Linked DNA regions of Homo sapiens: all the other regions are linked to region 2. Evidence: promoter capture Hi-C in 16 types of primary human blood cells and fetal thymus (Javierre and others, 2016). All regions are on one chromosome and are shown on one strand. The core of a region is centred on a gene start or on the middle of the fragment in contact, and the rest is flanking DNA. Distances in the headings are between cores, read along the strand shown.

What was found. The method cuts DNA at HindIII sites, captures the fragments that hold promoters and counts their contacts. A CHiCAGO score of 5 or more calls a contact.
Region 1: the fragment with the promoter of TSPYL1 here is called in contact with the fragment with the promoter of ASF1A in region 2 in 2 of 17 cell types (total CD8 T cells and fetal thymus); the score reaches 6.4 in total CD8 T cells.
Region 3: the fragment with the promoter of ZUP1 here is called in contact with the fragment with the promoter of ASF1A in region 2 in 4 of 17 cell types (naive CD8 T cells, activated CD4 T cells, monocytes and 1 more); the score reaches 10.1 in naive CD8 T cells.

The regions. Positions count from the first base shown.
Region 1 is chr6:116,278,296-116,282,951 of GRCh38, reverse strand. It overlaps TSPYL1 (TSPY like 1), which reads left to right and starts at 3,022. Exons shown (of 1, transcript NM_003309.4): 1 at 3,022-4,656. The coding sequence starts at 3,122. The coding sequence ends at 4,435. It also overlaps a transcript of DSE not described here. RefSeq lists enhancers at 3,029-3,088, 3,319-3,588, 3,609-3,658. The HindIII fragment of the contact is 6,415 bases long and covers 1,693-4,656 here.
Region 2 is chr6:118,891,821-118,896,099 of GRCh38, reverse strand. ASF1A (anti-silencing function 1A histone chaperone) reads right to left here and starts at 1,948. Exons shown (of 4, transcript NM_014034.3): 1 at 1,578-1,948. The coding sequence starts at 1,686. The region is part of intron 8 of MCM9 (minichromosome maintenance 9 homologous recombination repair factor); the gene reads left to right. RefSeq lists silencers at 754-1,283, 2,074-2,213 and an enhancer at 1,664-1,753. The HindIII fragment of the contact is 9,487 bases long and covers 1-2,953 here.
Region 3 is chr6:116,666,068-116,670,366 of GRCh38, reverse strand. It overlaps ZUP1 (zinc finger containing ubiquitin peptidase 1), which reads left to right and starts at 1,601. Exons shown (of 10, transcript NM_145062.3): 1 at 1,601-1,801; 2 at 3,160-3,733. The coding sequence starts at 3,175. RefSeq lists an enhancer at 1,577-1,766 and a silencer at 2,528-2,677. The HindIII fragment of the contact is 3,066 bases long and covers 1-1,845 here.

The DNA of each region.
Region 1 (4,656 bases), core at 1,773-4,272, 2.6 Mb after region 2:
GCAACCACAGCTTTGCCTGTATGGCAAAATAACTCCCTGAGCACGTGAGCCTTGGTGCATGTTGACATTCCTAGAGAGTTCCTCCTTCCAAGCAAAGATTCTTTCTTTAAAAAAAAATAGGACATAAAGTATGCATATTTGCTTTTCCCTCTAAAATCCTTGCCCTTTACTGACCCTTCTCCTGAGCACTTGTCCGAAAGCAATCATAACCTGAGCTTTCCATCACCTACAAGGAATAGTTATAATCACAATCACTTCTCTAATGTAATTTTCTTCTAATACACAGAGAACATGAGATACATTACTTCTAATTTTAAATCACGTTCTCTATATATTCAAATATTCCTTATCACAGCTTTATACATGTTCGACAAGAAGAGAAGGAAGAGTTCCTTTAAAGAGTCTCAACGTTATTTGGGGGAAATTACATTCAGCAGAGTCCTGATTATACTTACATGATCCTAATTAGAGTTTTCCTAGCATTACTGGTAAGAGTGTTAATTACATTAATTACATAATGGCTTCTTTGACAAATAAAGCCATATATTCTAAGATTGGTCCAAGCCTGACACTCCTTTCTGCTTAAAAAAAAATAGGAGACATATTGGAATAATAGAAGTTTCCACTTTAGGCCGAATGAAATTATACCAGTTCAAAATAGAAGATGATTTCATGGCAATTAGAAACAGTCTTTGTGGAAAGTTCCAATATTCCTTTTTATTTACACCAAAAGTAATTCCAGCCATGCATCACAGGCTCCATCACTTGTAGAGAGAAATGCATTATATATTTCTGTAGACAGAAACGAAGTAAAGCCTGAAATGATTACCTTGACTTTTTCAGAAAGGAGAGAATTGGAAATACAGTGCTGGTAGTCCGAGGCTTTGATATGTAAACTCACCTAAATATGCTGGTCTTTTCAGAGTTCGTTTGTCATACAGTGTGACCACACAAACTTAAATTATTTGTAAAATAAAATTGTTTTCTCTGTGTTTTTCCTATCCTTTTAGAGCCTTTGAAACATATATAGAAATTCATTCTCCTGAGTAGGAAACTGTTACTATATAGAATAGAGCAGCCCTCTGGTTTGCCAGTGGCAGATAGGAAGGAGAGCAGAGTGACAACCCATATGCCCCTTACTTCTCTTCCGCAAGGAGCAAGTTGCAAGCAAGAGAAACTGTTTTCTGCTCATTTGCTCCTTTATTTAACATTTTAATAATCTATGGGATACTGTGTAAGGTAGTGTGCTAGGCACTCGATAAACAGAGGGAAACGAAACCATGATCATGTCCTCTTGCAGTTTACAGTCTCCTCAGATATCGTTTGTGGTATGTTTAGGCTTTAATTTTGTCTTTCTGTGCATTTGCCTAAGTATATTTCTGGTCTTGATATTGAAAGACAGATTCAAGCTGTAATACATCACAGCTGTTGGGCAGGAACTCACGGGAAGCCATGAGCAAGGTAGAAGGGGCTGCTATTAGAAACAACTTGAGGCACCCATAGATGCAACCAAACCTTAATCCAAGGTGTATTCATTTCATATTGCTTCTGTAACAAATTACCACAAATTTAATAGCTTAAAATGCACAAATTTATTTTCTTATAGTGCTGGAGTTTAGAGGTAATAACCTCAAGGTGTTGTCATTCCTTTGGAGGCTCTAGGATTGAATCTATTTCCTTACCTTTCAAGCTTCTAGAGGCTGCCTTTATTCCTACGATCCTGGCTCCTTCCTCCATCTTCAAAGCCAGCAACATAGCGATTTCCCTTTCCTCCCTCCCACACCTATTCTCCACCATTCCTTCCCTCTCTCTGTGCTTTCGTCCTCTTATCTTCTCTGACTGACCCTCCTGCCTCCTTCTTATAAGAAATTTGTAATTCCATAGGGCCCACCTGTATAATCCAGAATCATCTTCTCATCTCCAAATCTTTAACTTAATCATATCTGCGAAGTCCCTTTGGCCGCATAACTAAGACAGGTACATCTTTGAGGGCCATCAGGCTACTACCACACAAAGCAAATTAAGTAGAAAATAACGTTTGCCTCTTTTATACCTTGAGTCCACCAGCTGCATGTTGCCCTTTGCAAGTTTGTTTTCTACTTCAAGGCCATCTTAGTTGTCCATTTTAACTAGCCTTTCCTCACAAAATGGTGGTATGTGGCTCCCCCCACTGATATTTCTCTGAGGCCTTGTAGCTCTCTAAGACAGCACCAGTTTAACTCACAAGTCAACAAACTGGAACACTTCAACCAGAGACATTGACATCCCCCTCTAATGAACTCAGCTGATTGCTAAAGACAGATGCTTCGTTAGAGCCAAACATTCCTATCTTACATAACTAAATATGATAATAAATTAAGTTCTTGGGGCTGGAAATAGTTATAATTTCCTCTTTCTTGCAGTGAAAAGGCATGGAACATTTAGCAAACTGATCCTGGCTTAATTTCTACCGATACTATGCAGCACAAACTCTTATTTGATGCAGATTATAAATCGAAAATTAGCAATGAATACTATGCATCGCTTTAGTGGTAAGAGGCTGCTGAGTAGCTTTTTTTCCCCAGTAACCGTAGAGGCAAGAATTGATATTTTTATGTCACTTTTACTAAGAAGGGGGGAAACATTTTGCTATTAATCTTAAAGAGAAGTCTTTTGCTGCTAGTTACGTGGAGTAACAGGGAATAGATTTACCTTCCTGCCTCAAAAAAGTGAAGACCAGAAAAACATTTGTTTTCAGACACTGGAGAGCAGGCACTGTTACGGCTGTGATTTTACAACTGCTCCTACATGCTGGGAGCAGTCGCTAGATGCATCTCAAGGTGGGTCGTCCGCGCTTCCAGACTCAGCACAATCGACATTTATTTACGTAGGTAAAATTACTGTTGCTATGGGTAAATTCACAGAAATAAAGCCCAGAGAATCCGGTTGGCTGGCAGGGAGCGGCGGAACCAATCCCGGGCTCAGCAAGTTCTCGCGATACCGTGAGATCTCCAGTCCTGACGACACCGCCGCTGAAATGTTAGTGAGACTGTAGGGTGGGCGGTGCGAGCGGCGGTTAGCTCCCAGTTCGGCCTCTGAGGAAAACGGGCGTTCGCCTGCGGTTGGTCCGACTGTTAGCAACATGAGCGGCCTGGATGGGGTCAAGAGGACCACTCCCCTCCAAACCCACAGCATCATTATTTCTGACCAAGTCCCGAGCGACCAGGACGCACACCAGTACCTGAGGCTCCGCGACCAAAGCGAGGCGACACAGGTGATGGCGGAGCCGGGTGAGGGAGGCTCGGAGACCGTCGCGCTCCCGCCTCCACCGCCTTCAGAGGAGGGGGGCGTACCCCAGGATGCCGCGGGCCGTGGCGGTACTCCCCAGATCCGAGTTGTTGGGGGTCGCGGTCATGTGGCGATCAAAGCCGGGCAGGAAGAGGGCCAGCCTCCCGCCGAAGGCCTGGCAGCCGCTTCTGTGGTGATGGCAGCCGACCGCAGCCTGAAAAAGGGCGTTCAGGGTGGAGAGAAGGCCCTAGAAATCTGTGGCGCCCAGAGATCCGCGTCTGAGCTGACGGCGGGGGCGGAGGCTGAGGCGGAGGAGGTGAAGACAGGAAAGTGCGCCACCGTCTCAGCAGCCGTGGCTGAGAGGGAGAGCGCTGAGGTGGTGAAGGAAGGCCTGGCGGAGAAGGAGGTAATGGAGGAGCAGATGGAGGTAGAGGAGCAGCCGCCAGAAGGTGAAGAAATAGAAGTGGCGGAGGAGGATAGATTGGAGGAGGAGGCGAGGGAGGAAGAAGGGCCCTGGCCTTTGCATGAGGCTCTCCGCATGGACCCTCTGGAGGCCATCCAGCTGGAACTGGACACTGTGAATGCTCAGGCCGACAGGGCCTTCCAACAGCTGGAGCACAAGTTTGGGCGGATGCGTCGACACTACCTGGAGCGGAGGAACTACATCATTCAGAATATCCCGGGCTTCTGGATGACTGCTTTTCGAAACCACCCCCAGTTGTCCGCCATGATTAGGGGCCAAGATGCAGAGATGTTAAGGTACATAACCAATTTAGAGGTGAAGGAACTCAGACACCCTAGAACCGGTTGCAAGTTCAAGTTCTTCTTTAGAAGAAACCCCTACTTCAGAAACAAGCTGATTGTCAAGGAATATGAGGTAAGATCCTCCGGCCGAGTGGTGTCTCTTTCTACTCCAATTATATGGCGCAGGGGGCATGAACCCCAGTCCTTCATTCGCAGAAACCAAGACCTCATCTGCAGCTTCTTCACTTGGTTTTCAGACCACAGCCTTCCAGAGTCCGACAAAATTGCTGAGATTATTAAAGAGGATCTGTGGCCAAATCCACTGCAATACTACCTGTTGCGTGAAGGAGTCCGTAGAGCCCGACGTCGCCCGCTAAGGGAGCCTGTAGAGATCCCCAGGCCCTTTGGGTTCCAGTCTGGTTAACATTTGCCCTTGGGAATACTCCTGCACAAGGTCTCCTACCACCTTCTGCTGGACCTGTGCTTGGGCATCAGCAATGAGTATGCCTTCTATTGTGCTTTGTTTTTGCTGACTTTTCTGCACCCTGTTTCCTTTGGATATTCAGTTCTCTCAACCTCAAGATTGAGACGGTGGTGGGTATGCTTCTCCACTTCCATATGACCTTCATGCTGTTCTGGAATATC
Region 2 (4,279 bases), core at 699-3,198:
TTGCCCTATATATGTATGTGCATTTATGCTCTATATAGGTTTAAAAAAAAAAAAAAAACGGGGGCACATGTTAAAGTAATAATTGTGATTACCGAAAGGAGATAGGGCAAGGCACTGAGTACAGAGAACTGTTAACTTTATATATGCCTGTACAACTTTCTAAAAGTTTATTACAATGAATATATATTGTTTTATAATTAAAATTAACCTTACATATGATATATACATTTTAGAGATTAAAAACTAGTTTTTAAAATGAAAAGTTTTACATGCCACGATTACCTAAATCATCTTCAATGCATTTTTTACATATACTTCTAGTTCAAAGTATGTCCCTCATCGATGAAGTTAAACTATTTCCCCTTCAAAACTGGCAAATGAAGCACTGAATTACTTTAGTAAAAGATAATTAAAGCAAAGATAATTGTCGTTTTAGCTTTCTAAATATTTATTACTAAAGATATTAAAAATACGTATTTTTAAGACCTTAAAATATATGTAGAAAAAATACCAAGAATTCTTGGACTGACATGAGGAGTTGACCTTAATTTCCTAGCCTACGTTTGTGTTTTATGTTTAGGGTGTGTTCTGTATTTGGATGTGGAGTTATTTTAGATTTCAACACGGTCTTGAAGAAAGTCTTCCTTCAGACTATTTATAAGGCAGAGATTAAGTCCTGGAAATTATTTAAGTATCTTATTTCTGCTTTTAGGTTAAATGTAACTTCCTACCTCAGCTCTATTTCTCTTCCTGAAATTAGCTTTTCGTCATTAGGGGAAAGGAGTCCACGTTGGTTGGGGAGCCTGCGCGCCAGCATCCCGGCGCATCCCGGGCGCCGGCCGAGGAGGACCGGCCGAACAGGACCCACGGCCCCCGGGGAGCGCCGGCGCCCAGCCCGCGGCGCGGAGGGGCCGAGCCTGCGCCCGCCTCCCCCGCTGGTTGGTCGAGGAAGCCAGAAATCAGCGCGAGGACAGCCTCGCTCTCCTCCCCGAAGCGGCCAGGCATGGCCAGCCCGGAGAGTGCGGCGACTCCACCGTGAGCTCTCGAGAGTGCCTGCCTGCCTTTCGCCGGGGGCAGGCGGGCGGCGGGGCAAGAGGAGGCGCCGTGCGCCGGGGTCGCTGGCCCAATTCTCGACTCGGGGTAAGATGGCTCCGCTCCGAACTCGCCGGCGCGACCACACGCACAGCCTCTCCCTTCCCAGCCTCCGTGCTCGGGCCCGGAGGGTCGCGGAGGCTGTTGGCGGCGCGGAGCCAGCCCGGCGCGACCTCAGGCGGCGCAGCGGGAGCGAGTGCGGGTCTCCGAGCTGCCCGCCCGCAGACAAAGCTGACAACATGGCTACCTCCGCTCCTCCGCTCAAACAAGTTCCTCGCAAGTTGAGCCCGGCAGGCGCCTGGGCTGCGGCGGAAAGCCGCGCGCGCCTCGGCGGCCGTCGTCCATCAACTTCAAGTTTCCCTCCGCAGAGCAGCCCGCGGCCGCCAGGCGCCGAACACAGCCGCCCAGCGCGAGGCCCGGCCCGGGAAACTTTCAACGTCTGCAGCCCGCAACTGACAGCCCGGGCGCACGGGCGCCGCACTCACCTTCAGACAGGTCCTCGATGCACTCGAAGGTGATCTCGAACTGGAACGGGTTGTAGAAAGGAGAAGGGTTATCCAGCACCACTACATTGTTCACCTGAACCTTTGCCATATTTTGAAAAAAACACAAACAATGGGAACTGGGGCTGGTTGCGGCACAATAAAGTCCAGCGCGCGGCCGCTCGGGAGAGCGCAGACCCCCGCTCCAGCGCCGGCCAGACGTCGTGCAGCGGCGACTTGAGAAACTTTTTTCCTCTTTTTATTTACACGGGAGCACTCCACAGTGTTTTGCAGCTTTCCTATTTCACTAAACTACAGCCCATTCTGCTCTGATAAGTAGCAGCGTTGCCCTCGATTGGCTGCACCCGAGTTCTGACCCTCCTCCTCCAGCGAGGGCCTCGGCAGCCAGCAAGATGGGCTCCCGCTCCCGGAATGGACTCGGAAACTTTAACTGCGGCTCCACCTGCTGGTGTGGATTAGGACAAAGGCGGAGAACAAAGTGAGTGGAATAAGGGCTGGGAGGCCCGCGCGGAGGCCGCCGGCGGCGGCGCGGAGAGGGGCGGAGGGGGCGTGGCCGCGGCGGGGAGGCGTGGCTGCGGCGGGAGGGCGCGATCCGGCCGACGCCCGCCCCTCCAGTTGGCTTCGTGTGGGTGTTTTGGCGTTTTTTTGTTTTTTTTTTTGTTTTTTTGGTTTTTTGATTTAACGCTCTTTTTACATCAGTGCAACAGCTTTGCCGGCCTTGCTGAATTTAGCAGATGAGAGTCGGTGTTTACACTGGGTTAGGTTCAGCTTTCTGCGTATCGGGTAGTATTTGGAGTAGAGAGAAAGATTGGCTGCAGGGGAAATAAATTGCATGTTATAGACCGATGTCAGCTCGAAAGGAGCAAAGCCATTTTGGAAATCTAGCTCTTGGCCAGTATCTACGTTTAGGCACGACAGCGCCGTTAAGCAACACAAAATGAAGGGCGAGGAATGATTTTCTACACACTGTGCTTGGAAAATTTAAATAGGTAACCTTTGGGCTTGCACCTGGGCGTCTTCTTCGGAGTCCAGATCTGGGAAGTCCTAGAATAAAAAAAAATCACAAGAGGTGTGATCAGTTATACTTCAGGTTACTGCCATTTGGAGAGCATAGCAGGAACATAAAAGGAGAAAATGGAAGTGTTAGGAGACCAACAGGGCAACAAACGTAATAGAGATGGGAAAAAGAACACAAAGACATAGCAAGACATTTGATCTTCAAAAAAATTTCTGACCTAAACCGTTAGTAAAGCAAATTCTGAGGAGCCCTTGCTTGCCTGTAACCAGTTGAGGTCTGAACTGAGGAAATGTTGATTCGTTTATGCTGCTTGGCTACCATTGCGGGGAAAGAGAAAGCTTTAACATATTTGTGAGCCTAAACCGTTTCTATTTAGTAAGTGGTATAAAGGTTTGTTTTATTATCTGCTAGCCATAAACCATCATTTTTTTCCTTAAATGTTGTGAATGAAACCACCAAACTTGGCCAAATTCAGAGAGAAAATTAATTCTTAAGTATGTGTTCTGGAAGAGTTTTCTCTTAGTATAGTGCCCAGAATTTTGATTTGTCATTCTTTGGTCATTGTTCATACTTAAGTAGGTGGCTTTTGATGAAACGTTTTCATCTGATGGTCTTTTGAAAGTTAATGTGAGACAGCTAATGTCAACCCCTCGTACATTTAGGAAAACCGGTTAGAGTGGGGAAGAGTTCCCTTTTTTTGTCAGTGGATTGAACAGTTAGATATAGGACCTACCAAAAAACACTTCTTCAAGCCAGTTGTTTGTGACATTAGAGTATTAAGAGTCAAACCATGGTGATAGACACAGATTTTTGTGGCTGATAAACAACATACTCTTCATTCTTATTAGTGCTGGTCCTAACACTAGCAGATAAAGTGGAAATTGCTGTATGCTGTAAGACACTCTGTATATGTAAGATAAAATGACCATTTGAAGATTAAAACTCCTGTGAGACTGGTGTATGCAGTTGTCTGATTATTACAGGTACTCTTAAGAGGAGAGTCTAGTCAGTCTCATGAAAACGACATTTTATGCTTGTTAAAATCACGTGCATTTTGCAGTCTGACCGTAAGTGTTACAATGAGACTAGTTGTAAAACTCACTTTTGGTGGATGTGCAGCATGAAGGACTGAGAAGATCTACCTGAATGCCACTAATTTGGCTTATTTTCTTTAAAATTTTTTGTTTAACACATCATATGCAACAGTATTTAAGAAGAAAAAACTCCCCAACATTTCACTGGAAGCTGCAAGAATTAGCTCCAGGCTTCTCCTGTCTTAACTCTTGTATTATTGCTTGTCAGAAATACTAAAGGGTCGTTGAGCACTTTGTTCAATAGTTTCCTCACCATTGATACTACCTTACTCCAGGAGAGACCGAAAGGATTCCTCAGATATGTCCTGGCATATTTCTAATTTAACTGGTATGCTGTAGGAAAAAAAGAATTGTGAAAGCCTCTCTCTGGTTTCAGAGGCAATCAGTAGGACTTGTTGCTGAACAACTTTGGTGACTCCCAAACATCTAATTGTACAACAGATGGGTCACTGTGAATGTCTTTATTAAGTACCCAAGGGGGTCCCACATAATGTTTGGAGGGCTGCATGGAATGTAATCCCCCAATCACTTCTCACTATGGGTTACTTGGGGGAAGGATGGCTGAGAGAGAT
Region 3 (4,299 bases), core at 352-2,851, 2.2 Mb after region 2:
CTCAGTCTCAAAAATCTATTGCTCTGTCACTCAGGCTGGAGTGTAGTGGCACGATCTCAGCTCGCTGCAACCTACGCCTCCCGGGTTCAAGCAATTCTCCTGCCTCAGCCTCCCGAGTAGCTGGGATTACAGGCACCTGCCACCACGCCCAGCTAATTTTTGTATTTCTAGTAGAGACGGGCTTTCACCATGTTGGCCAGGCTGGTCTTGAACTCCTGACCTCAAATGATCTGCCCGCCTCGGCCTCCCAAAGTGCTGGGATTACATATGTGAGCCACTGAGCCTGGCCAATCCAGTTTTATTTTCTTCATAGCACTTATCATGATCAGTTAATTTACTTTTTATTTCCTCTACCTCACCAGCATGTAAGCCTCAAAAATCCTGAATTTTGTGTATTTTGATTACTGCTGCAGCTCCTGTTGCAAGCAAAACGCCTTTCTAATAGACACTCTTTAAATATTTGTTGAATGAAATAAAGCCTGAATGACAAGATATTTGTGATTTTGGGCTAACATGGTGGCTCACACTTTGGGAGGCCGAGATGGGAGGATCATTTGAGGCCAGGAGTTCGAGGCTGCGGTGAGCTATTTTAGCCACTGTGCTCTGGCCTGGGTGACAGAAAGAGTCCTCCTCTCTAAAAATACATACATACGGCCGGGCACGGTGGCTCACGCTTGTAATCCCAGCACTTTGGGAGGCCGAGGGGGGCGGATCACGAGGTCAGGAGATCGAGACCATCCGGGATAACACGGTGAAACCCCATCTCTACTAAAAATACAAAAAATTAGTCAGACGTGGTGGCGGGCGCCTGTAGTCCCAGCTACTTGGGAGGCTGAGGCAGGAGAATGGCGTGAACCCGGGAGGCGGAGCTTGCAGTGAGCAGAGATGGCACCACTGCACTCCAGCCTGGGCGACAGAGCAAGACTCCGTCTCAAAAAATATATATATATACATACATACATACATACAAACCAAGATATTTGTTATCTTGTAACCTTGAGGAAAGAACCTGGTATCCTTTACCTTCGGTGCATAGCTGGGAGCTTGATACCTAGCAGCATTATAAACCCTTTATTGATACTAAAATAGAGTGCTACTCAGCAGGCCCTAGTGTAGACTGCTATTTGCCCCAGGACCTGCCCTGTGAACTCATTCAGATTAAGTATGAATGACCTCAGAGCCCGGTTTTCTCTCCTAGCAATTGAGTGGCAGGAAACTCGATGGGAGAAGGAAAAACTCGGAAATGGGAGGAATGCAAAAATGACTACATCTCTCAGGAGATCGAGACCATCCTGGCTAACACGGTGAAACCCCGTCTCTACTAAAAATACAAAAAATTAGCCAGGCATGGTGGCGGGCGCCTGTAGTCCCAGCTACTCGGGAGGCTGAGGCAGGAGAATGGCGTGAACCCGGGAGGCGGAGCTTGCAGTGAGCCGAGATCGCGCACTGCCCTCCAGCCTGGGCAGCAGAGCGAGACTCCGTCTCAAAAAAAAAAAAAAAAAAAAAAGACTACATCTCCCAGAATGCACTGCATAGAGACCGGCGTGGAGCGGCGCATTCTGGGATTACTTCTTTTCCGTGGGAGTAAGGAAGTGCTTTTGAATGAGGTACTGAGGGCCAAGGTGTTGGAAGTTCCTAATTCTTTCCTCGGTTAACTGTGAAACTCTGCGTATTGGGAAGGCCTGGCCTCAGTCATCAGGCCAGGAGAGGTACTGGACGCCGCGCACGCACTCGTCTGCCAGCGAGGCCCAAAGGGGAAGCCTAGCGGAGCTCAGTGTGGCAGCTGCTGGCCTCTGGGCCGGTAAGAATTGATGGTCCCCTCCCTTATTCCCCAGGCCCAAAGCTTTGACCCAGTTAGTGCCTGCTAGTTTCGTGTGCCTGGCTTGTGCCTTTGGCGCGGAACGTTTGGGAGACTCGGCCTTGCGGTCTTCTGACCTCACCCACCACGTACCTAGCTTGGCACTGGGTCCTTCATGCCTCTCACTCGCTTCCTCTGAGGCACCTGGGTACTCTCTTGTCTCTTACCCGCTTAATCTGAGTCCATGTCCAAGTTCATCATTCTGTGTCTGACCGTGTCCCAGCCACCGGAAGAGAAGAAACTCCGGGTGTGACATTAATCCCACTGGGGGCTCGGGAGAACTGCCTTCTAAAATCAGAGACTGTATCCATTTGTCTGGAGAGAAATGAAAAAAATAAGGACAATGTAGGGAGGTATTTTAAAGGTAAATTTATTTAAATGAAGTGATAGTGTCATTACTTTTCCTGTTTGATTTTAAATAGTCTTTAGCTGAACGATGACCTGTAGTAGGAAGGTGGTGGCGAAGTGATTGCTTTTTTTAAAATTATTTTTTTAACACTTTTATGTCAGTAGTCAGTACTTTATTTGTCCATAAAATCCAAAAATAACTACCTTTGGATTTTACAGTAGTCTTTGACTGAACCTCAGAGAGATGAGATTCCTTACCCAAAATGATGAATCTGAAATTATTACCCAGTTCTCTTGACTCTGGAATAAGTGCTTTTTTCTACTATACCACTTCTGCTTTTATTCTTGGGGCTGAGAGTACAGGCTGTGGAGCACGACGGGGTTGGCATTTTGGCTTCCACCTTTTTCTGCTTGTGGTGACCTGTCTGAGCCAGAATTTCTTTATGTGTAGAGCGATAATAATAGTACTTAAATTACAATAATAGCACTTAAATAGCACTTGATACATGTAAGACTCTAAGTTTACAGTGTTAAACTCTACTTGTAAGATGTGTTTATTTACCTCCTCAATATAATCAGCTTCAGTATTCAGTATTTAGATATATCAGTTGATAAATAGGTTTCTTCTCTTCATTTTTTTCTTACCTGATTTATCTTACCTGGACAATTTTTTAAACGTTATTTTTTCTCCACCTTGGGCCAGAGACATTTTTTGAAATATTTTATTTTTAAAATTACTTGTATTCATTATTATTGCCTTTTTTTAAAAAAAAATAAATGAAATTTTGGTTGATATTTATAAATAAGTTTTTGTATTTGAGGAACAGTAAGTACATTGAAAACTTCTTCATCAAAATAATCCAGCGTTAAAGACCAAGTAATTGTCTCAAATCATTTTATGAAACACATTTTTTCTTCAAATCTTTGAAACCTAATGTTATGTTCTTTTCTAGCTACTTGTCAATACCATGCTTTCCTGTAATATTTGTGGTGAAACAGTAACCTCAGAACCAGACATGAAAGCTCACCTAATTGTTCACATGGAAAGTGAAATTATATGTCCATTTTGCAAGTTGTCAGGTGTGAATTATGATGAAATGTGTTTTCATATCGAAACAGCTCATTTTGAGCAGAATACACTTGAAAGAAACTTTGAGAGGATAAATACAGTACAATATGGAACTTCAGATAACAAGAAAGACAACACCCTACAGTGTGGAATGGAAGTTAATTCAAGTATTCTTTCAGGTTGTGCATCTAATCATCCAAAAAATTCAGCTCAAAACCTGACTAAAGATAGTACTTTAAAACATGAAGGCTTCTATTCAGAGAACTTAACTGAATCTAGAAAATTCCTGAAAAGTAGGGAAAAACAGTCCAGCCTGACCGAAATAAAAGGATCTGTTTATGAAACAACATACAGTCCTCCTGAATGTCCATTCTGTGGAAAAATAGAGGAGCACAGTGAAGATATGGAAACTCATGTGAAAACAAAGCATGCCAATCTTTTAGACATTCCATTGGAAGGTAAAGTTTTCATTTCATTATAAATTATAAGTTTACAGCCTCAATTTAATATGTGGTATTTTAAAAGTTGGTTTGTAAGTCAGCTTACTACAGATGTGTTTTGAAATCCATTTTATGTCTATAACATTTTTCATTTGCTGTTACTGAAATATAAAAGTACATTATGGAAAAGAATTTTAATGCAGATATAAAATGTTTCAGCTACATTGAGAGTAGTTTTGGAACTTTCTGTCTAGTTTCCAGAGGGTATTCTTTTTATTGTCACTAACCCAGTAGCATCTGGACTGTCCTGGACTCTCTGACTTTGCATTGAGTTCTATTTTGACTCCATTATTCTGTTATGATTGGAGAACAAACTCTCTGTGATATCAGTTCTTTTAAATTTGTTGAGGCCTGTTTTATGGCTCAAGACACGAGCTATCTTGGTCATGTTCTGTGGATACTTGGGAAAAAAAAGTGTATTCTGCTTTGTTGGGTGGAATGTTATATGTATGTCACTAGATCCTGTTGTTTATGTTCAGATTATTTATATCCTTGCTTGTTTTCTATAGTAGTACTGTCTAGTA